Linked DNA regions of Homo sapiens: region 2 is linked to region 1. The links are contacts of gene promoters, found by promoter capture Hi-C in blood cells and fetal thymus (Javierre and others, 2016). All regions are on one chromosome and are shown on one strand. The core of a region is centred on a gene start or on the middle of the fragment in contact, and the rest is flanking DNA. Distances in the headings are between cores, read along the strand shown.

What was found. Contacts are between HindIII fragments. The CHiCAGO score rates a contact against its expected background, and 5 or more counts as called.
Region 2: a contact is called between a fragment that was not itself captured here and the fragment with the promoter of GZMA in region 1, in 3 of 17 cell types (activated CD4 T cells, total CD8 T cells and fetal thymus). The highest score is 5.9, in activated CD4 T cells.

What each region holds. Positions count from the first base shown.
Region 1 is chr5:55,101,244-55,103,943 of GRCh38, reverse strand. It overlaps GZMA (granzyme A), which reads right to left and starts at 1,298. Exons shown (of 5, transcript NM_006144.4): 1 at 1,192-1,298. The coding sequence starts at 1,261. The HindIII fragment of the contact is 5,521 bases long and covers 1-2,700 here.
Region 2 is chr5:54,898,155-54,900,854 of GRCh38, reverse strand. No RefSeq gene overlaps it. Among named protein-coding and RNA genes, the nearest start is that of ESM1, 86 kb to the left of the region's middle. RefSeq lists a silencer at 1,026-1,183. The HindIII fragment of the contact is 5,239 bases long and covers 1-2,700 here.

The DNA.
Region 1 (2,700 bases), core at 49-2,548:
GCCTCCAACTCTCTGGTTCAAGCGATTCTCCTGCCTCAGCCTCCTGCGTAGCTGGGATTACAGGCACGTGCCACCATACCCAGCTAATTTTTGTTTTTTTAGTGGAGACAAGGTTTCACCATGTTGGCCAAGATGGTCTCCATCTCTTGACCTTGTGAAACACCCACCTCAGCCTCCCAAAGTCTTCTCATATTTAGGTGCATAAACCAGATATGCACCTAAATATGATAAACCAGAGTTCTTTGGGAATTCCTGGCAAGGCAGGTTATTACATAAGTCCCTGCCTCCAAAAGCTGATGAATCCTGGGAAAAACCGTGGCTGGCTCCATATTGCCACAGCTTGAGAGTAGTCCTCACTTCCTAGCAGGTTCTTCAAGGGAAATCTAGAGCTCCCCAAGAGCTGTCACCCTTTCAGTGGTAATACCATGAATTATACAGCATTTTAACCCATGCATGCTCAACTCACACAAAAGCAGAAATATTGGTTACCATTTGGTAGACAAAAAATTAGCTTAATAAAAAATACTATAGCACACCCAAAGGGTTAATGAGGGAACTGGCCTCACGCCTTAATTTATTGCCAAAGAGTCTCTAGACCAGAGAAATAAGTATAAAAATTCTAATAATTCCTGATTCACTTTTGGTGTCTAGGTCAGATTTGTCTTAATTGTCTTTATCTATGCATTTTCTGCAGCAGGAAAGGCTGAGCTGACTAAGTTGCCACTATTCCTTTCCTGGAAGGTACTATTTGTTTTACGAACAAGAGAGTTTTGTTAACTCATTTTTACATTGTCCTTTTTGGCAATTTTCAAGTTACAAATTGGCAGCAATAAGCATTGGTGGTTCTGCTATCTTTTGCAAAATAATTATGAGAAGAAAAGATTTTTTTTTCTAAAATACAGACATATTTAAAATCCAAGAAAGAATGCTATTTAAAAAAAAAAAATAGAGACAGGGTCTCACTATGTCGCCCAGCCTGGACTCAAACTCCTGCGCTCAAGTGATCCTTCCACCTCAGCGTTCCTAGTAGCTGGGACTACAGGCATGTGCCATTGTGCCTGGCTAAACATTATAAGGCTTGGGGGAAAACATCTTCTTTCAGTATAGGAAGGTAATATTGCCAAAAGTTCATTGAAAGTCTGCTCCATTTTGCTTCATGGTCATAATGGAAATGAGAAGAATCAGTCTTACCTTCAGGAATTAGCAGGAGAGAAACGACAACTGAGAGAGAGGATGCCAGAAATCTATAGGAGTTCCTCATTGTGGCTGCTGTCCCACATCAATCAACCTGAAAATCTGTTTTCAGTTCTTAACTGCCTCTATCTATATACTGAGAGTAAAAAGGATGTGGTTTCCTTTCATTTTTTTTTTCAAGTTTCAAAGTTTAGCATTAGGAAACCAAATCCAAATAAGTGAGAATGGTGGATGATGGCTCACTGCCAGCAGGCAGGCTTTCCTTTGCTAGGACTGCTGAGGGGGGCGCTGGAATTCTACAGGGTAGGAGAGGGGCAAGGGACCTTGTTGCCATCAGAGTACACCAGGGAAGACTGTAAAGTGTCTCAGCTATGATTTTGAAGACGCTTTCATCATCTGCAATATTATCTGTAGTATCCATGACTGGAAACTCTCGAAGACTTAAATTAGAATTTTAATAAAAGTCCTCAAAATTGGTCACCAATCAAAATTCTTTCTAGCTGTCTCCTTGGGTTATATAAGAATTAGCAGGCCAAGTGCAAGCTGAGGACAGGAGGGAGATTTATTTACATAGAGGCTCCTGCCTGGATTTTCCTTCCCCACTTTGTGGTGAGTGTTTATTGTGCTCCTGCCTGGTCTGTGGCAGGTGTGGGAACATGGGCTGGAGGAGGGTAGGGGCTCTTGGCCCTTTTCAGCCCTCTGATTGTGCGTTCCTGATTGTCTAGTTTCACAACTTTAGATACTGAAAGTATCTCCGAGTTTCCCTCCCTCCCCGCCCCCCCCCGACCCCTGCTTCCTGCCTTTCTTCCTTACTTTCTTCTGAACAGGTTTAGGTGAGAAAAGAAGTGGGAGTCATTTTTGTTCCAATGTTGGGGAATGTCTCACTCTAAGAAGAGTCAACCTCAGTCCCTGGAGGAACAGTATGCAGTGTGCTTTCTATTTGAAATGAGTTCAGCTCTTTTTCTGAGCTGAGGATGTGGTCTCCGATACAATATACATGGTCAGATGTGCTGTCAGGATGTTGGGTACTGAACCAACCATCCCCATAGTTAACATCCTGATGACTTCAAACCTAGTGGTTACTTCTTTAGAAATCAAGTGACCTTAGAAGGGAGCCCTGCTGAGACCCCTGCATTTCTTTTTCTCAGATATTACAAGTGTATCAAAGGTTAATCATTTTCAGTAACAGCAGTGAGGACCCTGCTATTGGTTTTGGTGAGTAATTTTAGTGCAGACTTAAAAAAGTCAAATTGTAATTAACTACACCTACTGAAAAATTCTTAAAACATTGACAATTTTGTTTATTTTTATGTGAATGGTTGCTCTTCCATTTATGTTGACTTCTAACAACTTTATGAGACATAATTCACACACCATAAAGGTCACCCATTTAGAGTGTATGAGTCAATGGATTTTAGTATATTTGCATAGTTGTGCAGCCATTACCAGTACCATGCTGTTTTGGTTACTGTAGCCTTGTAGTATAGTTTGAAGTCAGGTAGCATG
Region 2 (2,700 bases), core at 55-2,554, 200 kb after region 1:
ACTCGTTGAAGTGGCTATCATTGATTTATATTTCTGTGTGAGGAATTCCAGCCCCTTTCTTCAGGGTAGGTTTTTACTCTGAGAAATTATGAAGATGGCAGAGGAATAGAAGGGTCCCCATGGGAACAAAAGCAGGACTGGCATTTGGGGGTATTAAGATACACACTTTACTGACTTCTAAATTTTCCTTGAGGTCTCTGAGTTCTGCTGTAAAATAGTTTGGCTGGCTTTCCATTACTCTCCTATGAAAATGGTAAACTGACAACTTCAAATAGAAAAAAATTTCATATTAATTTCTTCATTTCTTCATCAACTACTTATTGAGTACATGCTGTGTCAGCTGCTGGTCCAGACCCTGGGGAGATAACACAGCATCGATGGTCACTTGGATTAGAGCAGCAACAGAGATGGAGAGAAGCAGATTGATTTGAGTCATGTTTAGATGTAGGGCTAACAGGACTTTGGGTATAAGGAAAAGAGATGAATGAGTGTTGATTCGTAAGGTTTGGACTTGAACCATGAGATAGATGGTGGTGCTATTACAGAGATGAAGGGGATGAGAGGAGGACCAGGCTTGCAGAGCAGAAGTCAAGGCTTCCATTTTTGTCACATTAATTTTGAGATGACTATTTGACAACTGGGGGAAAATGGCAAGCAGGCCTATCTTATTCAGTTCAGGCTGTCATAACATAAGGCCCCATGGACTGGGTGGCTTAAATAACAAACATTTTATTTCTCATAGTTCTAGAAGCTGGGAAGTCCAAGATCAAGGTGCCTGCACATCCAGTGTCTGGTGAGGGCATTCTCCTTGGTTTGTAGACAGCTGTCTTCTCATCGTATCCTCACATGGTAGAGAACAGAGAGAGGAAGCTAGCTCTCTGGTCTCTCCCAATAAGGAAACTAATCCCATTAATGTGGGCTCCATTTTCAAGATCGAATTACCTCTCAAGGCCCCCACTCCTAATACCATCACATTGAGGGTTAGGATTTCAGCATTTGAATTTGGGCAGGGAGGTGGGGGAGAAGGCCAGACATTTGGTCCATAACAAGGGCTTTGGATACACAAGTAAGGCTGAAACCCAGGGGGCCCCTCAGAACCAGAAGTATGAATTTGGGAGTCCTTTCCATGTAGTACTTCAAACCATGGGGCGGGAAAAAATTTGTAGATGGAGAAGAAGAGAGCAGGTAGGGCTGAGCTCTGAGTGCAGAGATGGCTTAGAGGACATGGAGCTAGCAGAGGAGACTAAGCAGGTGCAGTCACTGAAGTGGGAGGTTAACACAGAGCCTGTTGCTTTATGGAAGCCAAGAAAGGAAAGGATTTCAAGGAAAGAGCAGTCAGTTTGAATGCTACTGAATGTAGGGCGAGATGAGAACAGAGAGTACCATCAGGTGTGGTGATTGGCGCTTTCTGCTCTCATCTCATCCTACCTTCAGTAGCTCAGCAGGAAACAGAAATTATACTGCCCTGATTGAATGGGTGCAAAGAGAAGGGGACATCATGTGCTTCAAAGAGTTGGATCAGAAGAGTTGGGGGGAAGTTAGGTATGGTGAAGGGACTATAATATCAGGAAAGGGATTTTTAGGATTAGAATATCCTTTTTAGCTGGAAAAATAGAGAGGGGGATATTGAAGATTGCAGGAGAGAAAGAAAAAGAGAGAGAGAGACGCCTTGAAGAAGCAGAAGGGAATGGGATCTAGAGGCAAGTGGAGGTTTGCCCTGAATAAGTAACTCTAGTGCCTGTAACAAGATGCCGGGTGCAGGGATGACGAGGCTGGGTTGAGGTTGGTCAAAAAGAGACTAAACTCCAAAAGAGGTGAGAAAGCGGAGACAGTGAAAGGAAATGACGCTTTCCAAAAGAAGACTTCTTTCTCTGTGCTAAAGGAAAGGATACATGTTGGGCTACGGAAATGGGATGGAATTTGGAGTTAAAACACTTGAGTCCCAGGATTGAGACTCATCTTAAGCTACTGAGTGTAGCTTACCTGCCCAACAGATTTTTCTGAGGGGAAAAAAGGGGCAATTCACCTACTCAAAAGAATCAAGATGTAATTATTTTCTTAGAATATCTCCACAATTTGATCATGAGGGCTTATCAAAATTTCATGAAAACAGACATTGCATGAATACTCTTAGTATCCACTTATTCATTCATTCATTCATTCCACAGATAGTCATTGAAAACCCATTATGGCCCAAGCACTGCTGCAGGCATTGGGGTTGCTCAGTGACCATACCAAGTCTCTGCCACATAGAGTTTACATTAGAGTGGGAAGGAAAACTATAAATAAGGATCTATGTATACCAGATGGTTATCAATGTTGTGGAGAAAAAGCAGCTTATGCAGAATGGAGGAGCTGTTATCTATGGTGACTATGGGAGTCCTCACCAGTTAGAGTACATTTAAGCAGAGACAGCAGCATGGGACAAGCCATGAGGACGCAGATGCTCCTCATTTTACAATGGGGTTATGTCCCTAGAAGCCCATCAGGAACCTCATAAGCCTATCATAAGTTGAAAATATTGTTAGTCAACAGTGTGTTTTCAACTTACGGTATTTTCAATTTACAATGGGTTTATCCAGATGCAACCCCATCGGGAGCTAAGGAGTGCACTGAATGTGCATCACCTTTGCACCATTCAAAGCAGAGACATTGAATGTTGAACCTTGCTAAGTTGGATGCTGTCTGTATTATAAGCAT